Regions from separate parts of the Homo sapiens genome. Here region 1 is linked to region 2. The links are contacts of gene promoters, found by promoter capture Hi-C in blood cells and fetal thymus (Javierre and others, 2016). All regions are on one chromosome and are shown on one strand. Each heading gives the region's core, a stretch centred on a gene start or on the middle of the fragment in contact. The rest is flanking DNA. Distances are from core to core; before and after follow the strand shown.

What was found. The method cuts DNA at HindIII sites, captures the fragments that hold promoters and counts their contacts. A CHiCAGO score of 5 or more calls a contact.
Region 1: a contact is called between a fragment that was not itself captured here and the fragment with the promoter of SHOC1 in region 2, in 5 of 17 cell types (endothelial precursors, M2 macrophages, total CD4 T cells and 2 more). The highest score is 7.1, in endothelial precursors.

The regions. Positions count from the first base shown.
Region 1 is chr9:112,352,328-112,358,222 of GRCh38, reverse strand. It overlaps a transcript of PTBP3 not described here. Among named protein-coding and RNA genes, the nearest start is that of PTBP3, 22 kb to the right of the region's middle. The HindIII fragment of the contact is 4,467 bases long and covers 1-3,537 here.
Region 2 is chr9:111,790,590-111,796,898 of GRCh38, reverse strand. SHOC1 (shortage in chiasmata 1) reads left to right here and starts at 1,962. Exons shown (of 28, transcript NM_001378211.1): 1 at 1,962-1,999; 2 at 5,445-5,525. The coding sequence starts at 5,481. It overlaps LOC124902249 (a long non-coding RNA gene), which reads right to left and starts at 681. Exons shown (of 2, transcript XR_007061734.1): 1 at 527-681. The HindIII fragment of the contact is 10,914 bases long and covers 1-3,089 here.

The sequences.
Region 1 (5,895 bases), core at 55-2,554, 560 kb before region 2:
TTCTCCTGCCTCAGCCTCCTGGGTAGTTGGGATTAAAGGCACCTGCCACCACGCCCAGCTAATTTTTTATTTTTTTTAGTAGAGACAGGGTATCATCACGTTGGCCAGCCTGGTCTTGAACTCCCGACCTCAGATGATCCACCTGCCTTGGCCTTCTAAAATGCTGGGATTACAGGCATGAGCCACCGCGCCTGGCCAAATTTTTTTGTTTATTTTTGTAAAACATACCTAACATAAAATTTACCATTTTAACTATATTGAAGTGTACAGTTCAACGGCATTAAGTACATTTACATTGTTGTGCAACCATCACCCCATCTATCTCCAACTCTTCCAGTTTTGTCAACCAAAAATGTCTCTGGAAATTGCCAAATGTCCTCTGGAGGCAAAATTGCTCCAGTTGTTTACACCTTCTCCAAGGTGAATAAGAAGTCAAAAATGTCGATGTCATAAAAAAATAGAAAGAAAGTCTAAGAAGCTGCAATAAAGAAGAAATGACAATTCAACGCAACACATAATCCTGAACTGGTTCCTGTATAGAAAAAAAAAATTGCTATAAAGAACACTATTGGCAGGCTGGGTGCAGTGGTTCACACCTGTAATCCCAACACTTTGGGAAGCTGAGTCTAGCAGATTGCTTGAACCCAGGAGTTTAAGACCGGCCTGGGCAACATGATAAAACCCTGTCTCTATAAAAAATACAAAAATTAGTAAGCATGGCTGCCTGCGCGTAGTCTCAGCTATTCAGGAGGCTGAGGTAAGAGGATCAACTGAGCCCAGGAAGGTCGAGGCTGCAGTGAGCTGTGATTGCACCACTGCACACCAGCCTGGATGACAGAGCAAGACCCTGCTCAGAAAAAACAAACAAACAAAACAACAACAACAACAACACAAAAAGAACACTACTGGAAATTAACAAATTGGAATATGCAGTAGAGATTAAAGTATTGTATCAGTAATGAATTTCCTGATTTGACAACTCTGCTGGGTTATGCAAGAGAATTTCCACGTCTTAGTATGAAGTATTAAAAGGTAGAGGGAGGCCGGGTGCGGTGGCTCATGCCTGTAATCTCAACACTTTGGGAGGCTGAGGTGGGCGGATCACCTGAGATCAGGAGTTCGAGACCAGCCTGACCAACATGGTGAAACCCCGTCTCTACTAAAAATACAAAAAAATTAGCCGGGTGTGGTGGCGGGTGCCTATAATCCCAGTTACTCGGGAGACTGAGGCAGGAGAATCGCTTGAACCTGGGAGGTGGAGGTTGCAGTGAGTTGAGATCACGCCATTGCACTCCAGCCTGGGCAACAAGAGTGAAACTCTGTCTCAAAAAAAAAAAAAAAAAAAAAAGAGGGAAATGAATATACACCTGCTCTGAAATGAAATGGTTGGGGCCAAATTGTGTGTGTGTGTGTGTGTGTGTGTGTGCGCACACGCAATTGTCTCAAAAGCCTCTTGAGTCTTTCCCTTATATCTCTGACAATCCCACTGCTCCAAAGTACACTGTGGGTTTTCCTCAACTTGGAGCTAGATACCTGGAATTCTAGAAAACAATTCCCTCAGTAGACAATTGCTCCCTTATATGAGCACAAGCAGCGGAGTGACTACATGGATCAAGCTGTATTTCACCATTTTTTTTTTTTGCTCTGTTGCTTTATGTACCACACCAGCCCCACACAACTCTTCACCAAAGAGTTGTGGAATTATTGCATAAGAGAAAAAAATCTTAACTATATGACAACTGCTATGTCACACAGACTGCTAGTGGCTTACCCACTACTTCTTACCAACATTATTTTTAGAGGTGACAATATAACCAGCAAAAACACTGCACCTCCCAGCCACTTTTACAGCCAGGGATGGCCACATGACCAAATTACGGCTTATGAGACGTATGTGGAAGATGCTGGGAAGGACTTCTGGGAAAGCTGCTTTAAAGAGTTTCCAGTCCGGTACTGTGGCTCACACCTGTAATCTCAGTACTTTGGGACGCCGAGGCGGGTGGATCACCTGAGGTTAGGAGTTCTAGACTGGCCTGGTCGACATGGTGAAATCCTGTTTCTACTAAAAATACAAAAAATTAGCTTGGTGTGGTGGTGTGCGCCTGTAATCCCAGCTACTTGGGAGGCTGAGGCAGGAGAATCCATCTAAGAGAGAGAGAGAGAGAAAGGGAGGGAGGAAGAAAGGAAGAAGGAAAAGAAGAAGGAAAGAAGGAAGGAAAGAAAAGAAAGAGAAAGAAAGAAGGAAGGAAGGAGAAAGAGAAAGAGAAAGAAAGAAAGAAAAGAAAAGAAAGAAACTTTTATTTCCAGGTGGGGTGTGGTGGCTCCTGCCTGTATTCCCAGCACTTTGTGAGCCCAAGCCGGATAGATGGCTTGAGTCCAGGAGTTTGAGACTGCCTGGCCAACGCGAAACCCTGTCTCTACAAAAAAATACAAAAATTAGCCAGGCGCGGTGGCGCATGCCTGTAATCACAACTACTCAGGAGGCTGAGGATTGCTTGAACCCAGGAGGTCAAGCCTGCAGTGAGCTGTGATCACGCCACTGCACTCCAGCTTGGGCAACTCCCCAACACCCACCCTCCACAAAAAAAAAAAAAAAAAAAAGAAAAAGAGTTCTTAGCCATTTTGTAATCTTAAGAATGATGAAAGCCATATGCTTATGTAATGGAAACAAAAGAAGACGGGTCTTTGATGAACATGAAATGGAGTGTCATATCAGCCCTGAAACCACTACTTCTGAACTTCCTTTGCATGAGAAATACATTTGTATCTAGTTTATCTTGTTACTGAGTTTTCTGTTGTATGCAGCTGGACCTAACTCTTAAATGATACTCAGTCTGAAGATAAAATTATCACAAGAATATAAACCATCGCAAAGGCCTTGAGCACACCTGGATCCCTACTATTGCCCCTTGTCTTCACATCTGCATTTCTTTCTCAGAGCATTGATGTTGTTCAAATTTCCTTCTTCAACATTTCCTTTAATATCTCCCTCCTCCTTTCAGTAGATTCCAGGCCCCACTCACAGGGGTTGGTCTCATACCAGGATCCATCCTCTTTTCCCAAGCCAAGCATTTTCTCAGGTCTGAATTATTCATTTGATTTAAAATATGGCTCTAGCAAGAAAATCCACGGTGGGTGTGGGTAGTCCAAGTTCAGTTCCCTTGGAGATATTTCCACCTAATTCCTCCTGGTGCCCAGTAAATAACTATTATGTTAAACACACCCACATCTCCCAAAGACAGGCATTAATTCTGAGAAACGGTATTACACTGTGAGTACATGTACGTTTTCCACGCTGAGAAAGAGAAACATTTGACTCCTATAATCAATGTAACTTTACCCCTGCTCACTATCAAGATAGCATTTTATTTTGCAGAACAATGTCAGCTCTTTTTTATCTTCTAGTTTTCAGATTGTGCCTAACCAAGCATTTAAAAAAAATAAAAAGATGTTTGAAATTAGCTTAAAAATCAGGCCCCCAAATTGAGCTATCCATCTCTCTTTCTTGTTACTGCTTTGCTACACCAAGATCAAGCTTTGGAAATACCCCATGTATTTATTCTGTGCCAAATTAAATTTTTGTAGGTGTCATCCTCCTACTACCCTCTACTAAATTAAATTCTTGATTAAGGTCTCATACTCCCACTGCTCCAGAACAGAGGCAATATGAGGACTTATTATCCTCTGATACAAGTAATCCTCCACCCCCAGGGGGGTGGTATGGAGAGGAGGTTTGCTTTTCCAGTTACATAAATAACATATTCTTCACAGAGCAGCTTTCCAGGCTGTATTTTGTTGTTTTGTTTTGTTTTTCTGCTACTGACTTTTTGCTTGTTTGCCTGTTCAAGGCTGAACATTTGCCAGTGCCCTGTGGGATCATCTGCAGTGAAATATTTTTCAGAACCATATTGATACGGGAGAACAACAGCTTCACCCAGTTGTTTGGTAACCCAAGAGCTTTACCACTGACCTTGTGGGCTGTGGTTTGCTTTTTGCACAGGGCTATTATTTCCACTAAAGACAAATCAGGAAACATAAAACAGATATACCCTAACCAATCTATCTGGCTCCTTGTTGAACAGATATGTCAAAAGATTTAGAGGAGAGGTTTGAATTTGTAGCCAAAATGAAGGCTTTGTTGTAGTTGTAAAATAAAATGTATGGTTCCTATTAGTGATGTGGTCTCAGATAGCCGAAAAGGAACTATTTTGTCCATTATAATAGCAATTACAATATTATAAGCATCTATATATATTTTTTTTTTAATGACAGAGTCTTGTTCTGTCACCCAGGCTGGAGTGCAGTGGCATGATCTTGGCTCACTAAAACCTCTACCTCCTGGGTTCAAGTGATTCTCCTGCCTCAGCCTTCCGATTAGCTGGGATTACAGGCGCCAGCCACCACGCCTGGCTAATTTTTTTGTATTTTTGGCAGAGATGGGGTTTCACCATGTTGGCCAGGCTGGTCTCCAACTCCTGACCTCGGGTGATCAGCCCGCCTCAGCCTCCCAAAGAGCATCTATATTATATTTATTTACTTCAAATATCTGTAGACAAATAGAATGCCAAGACAGGAAAAGTAAATCAACTCTATTAGCACAGAAGGCTAACTTCAGGTCAGGGAGCAAGAGTTATACATAACAGGTTAAGTGGAAAAGAGGGGAAAAAAAGGAAAAGAGGCCAGGCGCGGTGGCTCACACCTGTAATCCCAGCACTTTGGGAGGCCGAGGTGGGTGGATCACCTGAGGTCACGAGTTTGAGACAAGCCTGGCCAACATGGTGAAACCCCGCCTCTACAAAAACTACAAAAAAAAGGAAAAGAAAGAGAGTTGTCCCTTTTTCTCTGCTACCTTACTCACAGCTGTCTCTTTCACCTTCACTTCTTTGAAAAGATTAGGGTAACTCACAAGCTAGTGAACTGGTTTGGACTAGGTAAGTTAGGGGAGAATCATGTTACGGGCTGGTGAAAGGAGAGAATCCATGGCTATTTGAGAAGAGTGAAAATATTTTAATGAAAGTCATCAGCTGGGCGCCGTGGCTCACGCCTGTAGTCCCAGCACTTTGGGAAGCCAAGGTGGGTGGATCACTCGAGGTCAGGAGTTTGAGACCAGCCTGGCCAACATGGTGAAACCCTGTCTCCACTAAAAATACAAAAATTAACCAGGCGTGGTGGCAGGCACCTGTAATCCCAGCTACTCAGGAGGCTGAAGCAGGAGAATCGCTTGAACCCGGGAGGTGGACATTGCAGTGAGCCGAGATCACACCACTGCACTCCAGCCTGGGAAAGAGCAGAAGACTCTGTCTCAAAAAAAAAAAGAAAAAAAAGAAAGTCATTAATTGGTACTTAACTTCAAAGGAAGATGGCAGTCTAGGAAAATACACAAAAAAATGAACCAGAACCAAAAAAGAAATTTCAACTATAGTCAAACTATGCAACTGACATGACCCATTACAGACTGTGAAGAATAACTTCAATTTGTACCCAAATCAAGGAAAGCGGTGAGATTTGACAAACATTTCCTCCAAATAGTCACTCCGTGCCATTTTTAGTGAGTAAACGAGATGTTCCTGAAGGCCCAGAAGCAATTTGAAATGTGAAGAAATAAGAACTGGGACCTAGGTGCACCACGGAAAAATTAAGAAATACACCCTGGGGTTCATTTTCAGACGTTAAGGAAGGTAGGACTGAAGAAGAGAAGATGTATCTTGCATTTTTATTTATTTTCAGGACTCAGTTTGCTGACCCATGACTGAAAATTGGGAAGTGAAGGGAGGCTGAAGGGTTAACAGTGACCTGCAAGGCAGACCTGCAACCGTTGACCAAAGTAAACTGAGCAGAGTAAATAAGCACTAGAAGATTAAAATCCTATGACAGGCCAGACCTCCTGACACTCTC
Region 2 (6,309 bases), core at 713-3,212:
TGTTTAATCTCAGCAGTAGTCAGAGAAATGCAAACTAAAACAAGATAGAATTTTTCATGCATCAGCCTGGCAAAAATTTCTAAAGAGCAATATATTCAGTACTGTTGGGTATTCAGGAGAATGATGACCCCTTTCTGGTATTGTTAATGTAAACTGCTATACATTTTTGGAAGGAAAAATTGGCAATATTTATTAAATTTGAAATGCTCTTACAATTTCAGCCAGCAAGCCAAAACAAATCTATGCCACAGAAAGTATTCAAGAGCATATGTCCAAGAATTCTTACTGCAGCATTATTTGTCATTGTTTCCAAAAAATTGGAAACAATCTGTTAATCCATCAGTAGTGGAATGTTTAGATAAATCATGGCACGTAGTTACTATAAAATATTATGCAGCTATTTTTAAAAGTAATAATTTTTAAATATAATTAGCCAATCAACGTTGTACATGCATATCTGAATAAATTTGTATGAACATACAACAAAGTGTGAAAAGAATCAACCCAGATTGTTAATATTGGTTACCTGGGAGTTGGGGTGGGAATGGCGATTACTTTCTCTGTATACATCTTTGGATGGTTTTCCTGTTTATAGTAAGGATAAGCATGTGTTATTTTTGTTTTTTGGTTTTTTTTGTTGTTGGTTTTTCTGTTTGTTTGTTTCTGATACGGAATCTTGCTCTGTCCCCCAGGCTGGAATGCAGTGGCATGATCTCGGCTCACTACAACCTCCGCCTCCGGGTTCAAGCGATTCTCCTGCCTCAGCCTCCCAAGTAGCTGGGATTACAGGGGCATGCCACCACACCCGGCTGATTTTTTTTTTTTTTTTTTTTTTTGTATTTTTAGTAGAGATGAGGTTTCACCATGTTGACCAGGCTGGTCTCGAACTCCTGACCTCAGGTGATCCACCCACCTCAGCCTCCCAAAATGCTGGGATTACAGCGTGAGCCACCAGGCCCGGCCAATTTTTGTAACTTTTACAAAGATATTTAATTTAAAATTGATTTTAATAAAAGGTAGACATCCAAGAACACAGGATGATTAATGCACTTCAATGTTAGGTGAATATCTTTAAAACTGATTATTGTCAAACATTAAATCCATATAACCGAAGCAAACTGCACACACCTGTACAAAATAAAGGAAGTAACTTAAGAAAATAAAGTGACTTATCCACTGACATTTCACAATTAGTATTTGAACAATCAACTCAAAAGACACCCATGTGTTAGTAAAGTAAATAAATGCATGTTACTTCTTGCAATCTTCTGGGAAGGAGTTTAATGCCAAGCCGTTTCATGGAAAAGACAGGAGTTAAGAAATATGGAGGAAAGAATAATTATTCCTCATCAGGCGAGTCTGGCGATACCTAAATGTGTGTATGTAAGGGAGTGGCTTTAATTAAGGTATAGAATCCACATGTGCCAATTGAAAAGCAGTATCTTCCTGCCCCTCCTCAAAAGTTCTTCTGCTACCAAGCCATGACCCACACCTAGCCAGACCCCTGAGGCACGTTTGCCTCCTCTCTCTTGCCTTCCTCTTTCCCTGAATCTGTCTGATTGCTAAATCCTCCCACCCTTACCTCTGAAAGGCTTCTGCCCTCGCCCTCCGGCTAACCCTGCCGCGTTTTGCCCGGCCTCGCTAACAACATGGGAGCCGCCACTCCCAAAGAAGTCCGGACTGCTTTGCCGGGTCTTCCCAACCCTTCACAACCAGCTCTTTCTAGCCTCACGCCGACTTCTCCACCGTCACACTCCGCCCAGTGTTATGAGGGTTCTGCTCACTCCCGAGGACCTCGGCGCTGCCCAGGCTGCAGCCTCGAATCCCCACAATCCTTACCTCCCTAGGCTGTGCCCACTCGCGGACGGAAGTGCCCGGAGCCCAAGGGGCGGGGCCTGGTCTGGCCAATGGAAGCACAGAGTGCAGGCTCAGTGGTCACGTGTCCAGCGGGCGGGAATTTTACCCCAGGAAGAGATGCAGGAGGCGATTTTTACCTCAGGTAAGAGCCCTGAGAGGCTGGAGGCAGGAGAGAGGGTGATTTTGAGGGCTGAGGGGAGGAAAAGGTCGTATGGGACCAAAGAAGTATGGCAGCTCAGGAATCTCTGGAAAACGCATCTGTGAGGCCCGGCCGATGTGGCTCTGTAGAGACAAAACCCCAGACCCACTGTCCACTTAACCTGAGAATAGAAGGTGTGAAGGTCTCAGAGATGCTGGTGGGATTTCAGCCCATCAACTAGAAGTTGTATGGGCTAAACAATAAGGGAAAATAGGTGCACCTCGCCTTCTCTGCCATGTTACGTTTTTTTGTCTGTTTTAAGACAGGGTCTCGCTCTGTTGCCCAGGCTGGCGTGCAGTGGCACGATCTCGGTTCACTGCAACCTCTGCCTCCCGAGTTCAAGAGATTCTCCTGCCTCAGCCTCCAGAGTAGTTGGGACTACAGGCGTCCTCCACCACGTCTGGCTAATTTTTATATTTTTAATAGAGACGGGGTTTTGCCATGTTGACCCGGCTGGTCTCGAACTCCTGACCTCAAGTGATCCACCCGCCTCGGCCTCCCGAAGTGCTGGGATTACAGGTGTGAGCCACCACTTCCGGCGGATCTTATTATTTTTTTTTTTTTAAGTGGGTTTTTATGCGAGGGAGTGAAGAAGGCAGAAAGCTCCTGATGCCTTAGGCTGGTGGGGAGAGGTGGGAAGCCAGCCCGAAGATTCACACTCACCTGTGAGTGCTTTTAAATAATCTTGGGGCCTGGCATATGGTGGCTCAGGCCTGTAATCCCAGCACTTCGGGAGGCTGAGGCGAGAGGATTGCCTGAGCTCAGGAGTTCGAAATCAGCCTGGCCAACATGGCGAAACCCCGTCTCTATTAAAAATACAAAAATTAGCCGGGCATGGTGGCACCCGCCTGTAATCCCAGCTACTCGGGAGGCTGAGGCAGGAGAATCGCTTGAACCCGGGAGCTGGAGGTTGCAGTGAGCCAAGATCGCACCATTGCACTCCAGCCTGGGGACAGAGGGAGACTCTGTCTCAAAAAATTATTTGATTAATTAATTAAATCATCATCATCATCATCATCATCTTGGGAAAGCTTACTTCCTGGCCTTGTGCCTGACCTCATTATCGTGTGCATTTCCATTTTGGTCCAGTAGTCCAGTAGATGTTTGTTAGGAAGTAGCACAAAAGAAATAAAATCTTTAGAAAAAGGTAAAAAAAAAAAAAATTCGAGAATTGCTGCAATTCAAAACTTGATAATTTTAAATTACCCTCTCTCTAACCATGATTTTGTTCATTTCCTCATATCTTTGGTTTTAGAAATAAGAGCAATGTATCGTTTTTGCTTCCACCCACCACTATTAGATGGATTCGATATCTGTATTACAATGAAATAAACTTGATAAACGGGATTCTAAGCATGTATATAACATATGGCATCTTATTAAGTAGTACATATTTAGCATGAATTTCAGTGGTTGACTTCAATACAAAAGTAATTATTTCTTAAGGTAATTGGTGAGAGTGATAGAAATACTAGGCTTCACAAGAAAAGAAAAGTTAATATAAATGCTGACAATAAGCTGAATGGGTAAAGTCAGTAAAGTTGAGTTTGTTGTTAACTTTTTGCAATGGCTTTTAGAATGAGACAATCAGTTTTTTCTGAAAGTGCAACACCAAGAAATGGAAGTTCTAGAATCAATATTTGCTTGAAAGATCAGTGACAGGCCGGGCGCGGTGGCTCACGCCTGTAATCCCAGCACTCTGGGAGACCGAGACGGGCGGATCACAAGGTCAGGAGATCGAGACCATCCAGTCTAACACGGTGAAACCCTGTCTCTACTAAATATACAAAAAATTAGCCGGGCGTGTTGGCGGGCGCCTATAGTCCCAACTACTCAGGAGGCTGAGGCAGGAGAATGGCGTGAACCTGGGAGGCGGAACTTGCAGTGAGCTGAGATCCGGCCACTGCACTCCAGCCTGGGGGACAGAGCGAGACTCCGTCTCAAAAAAAAAAAAAGATCAGTGATACACTGGGTGGAAAAGACATAGAGGTGCAATGATTGGAAATATTCTCAGAAAAGTAACCACCAGTAAAATAATGCCCACGTTGGTCCTGTTTAAGAGTGAAAGAGGGTGGCCACACTATATATTCTCCACACCACAGAATCTAACAATATTAAAGACAATTCAGATAACATATTTGTCTCATTTTAATTGGAAAACATATTGTAATATCCAAAAATCCTTCTGAGTCATTAAACAAATAAAATAATTGTGCTCTGGGTTGTTTTTGTTTTTGGTTTGAGATAGAGTCTGGCTCTGTTGCCCAGTTTGGAGTGCAGTGGTGTGATCTTGGGTCACTGCAACCTCCACCTCCCAGGCTCAAGCAATTCTCGTGCCTCAGCCTCTCGGGTACCTGGGACTACAGGTGCACACCACCACGCCCAGCTAATTTTTGTATTTTTAGTAGAGATACAAAAATTTTGTATTTTTGTATTTTACATCATGTTGACCAAGCTGGTCTCAAACTCTTGGCCTCAAGTGATCCACCACCTCAGCCTCTCAAAGTGCTGGGATTACAGGTGTGAGCCAACATGCCTGGCCTGGATTGTTTTAAAAGTTTGTTTTTAGTTTTTTACTAAAAGTTTTACACAGAAGTTACTCTGTCCTAGAGTAACTTCAAAACTGTAATTCCTTGAGTTCTCAAGTAAATGAGAACCATCCCGGACTAGTTAAGCATTCTAGATTTTACTTATTGCTTCATTAGATGGATTTGCTGATTTACCAATATGCCATAGTTGCTTTATTCCAAATGAGCTAGCTACTAGAAAATTCTAACTTTAGGCTTCTTATTTTCTAAGTAAGAGAATGGAAACAGTTTCACAAATTGTTTCCCAATTTTCCAAATCCTCCACTGTTTCAGCACAGAGTTCTGCCCTTGGTTACCCAATTTCAAGACCACTTGAGAAATATGGTTATTCTCAAGACCACTTGAGAAATATGGTTATTCTCAAGACCACTTGAGAAATATGGTTATTCTCAAGACCACTTGAGAAATATGGTTATTCTCAAGACCACTTGAGAAATATGGTTATTCTCAAGACCACTTGAGAAATATGGTTATTCTCAAGACCACTTGAGAAATATGGTTACACCACTCCGGCAATCTTGTAAATTTCAACCTCTTTTGCAACAAAATGATCACATTAAATATATTTCCACCAACCAACTAACAGCTATATGATTTAAACAATAAGAAATTATTCAATTTTCTATCAATATACATTATTTTCATATTAGATTTAAAATTATAGTAATGTATATTATTTTTACCAATGATTATCATTCAGAGCCTTTTTAAAAATGAGTAAACCAAAGTTTTGTGATTGAGATTTTCTGCACTTGACTTGCTATTTTACCAGTGTTTAATTTTAATTTTTGTATTTCCAGATGTTGAAATTTACACTGCTTTGAAAGAAAGAAGATATGTTTTCAGCATTGAAATATCATGCAATAGACTATTTATATGAGGTAGAGTGTTAGTGGCTTACTGTCTATTTACTGAGAATTATGATGTAAGAAGTGTTAACTACATTCAATATAGGTTGAGTATCCCTTATCTGAAATGCTTAGGATCAAAAGTATTTCAGATTTCTGATTTTTTTTCAGATTTTGGAATATTTTTATATATATAAAATGAGATATCTTGGGGATAAGACCCAAGTCTAAACACAAAATTTATTTATATTTTATATACACCTTATCCACATAGATTGAAGGTAATTTTATACAATATTTTAAATAACTCTGTGCATGAAACAAAGTTTGTGTACACTGAACTAACCATCAAAAAGCAAAAGTGCCAGTATCTTCACCACCCATTGGCATCATATTGGCACTCAAAAAGTTTTGGATTTTGGATTTCAAATTTTTGGATTAAGGATGCTCAACTTGTATATGATAATTTTGCAGTAATCCTTAGATTGTTTATTAGTCTAATTACTTTTAGATTTATTGAAAATTATTTTCCACATTTAATGTCTTTAAAATGCCACTTTTGGCTGGGCACGGTGGCTCACGCCTGTAATCCCAGCACTTTGGGAGGCCGAGGCGGGTGGATCATGAGGTCAAGAGTTCGAGACCAGCCTGGCCAACATGGTGAAACCCTGTCTCTACTAAAAATACAAAAAAATTAGCCGGGCATGGTGGTGGGCGCCTGTAATCCCAGCTACTTGGGAGGCTGAGGCAGGAGAATCACTTGAAATCTGGGAAGTGGAGGTTGCAGTGAGCCGAGACTGCGCCACTGCCCTCCAGT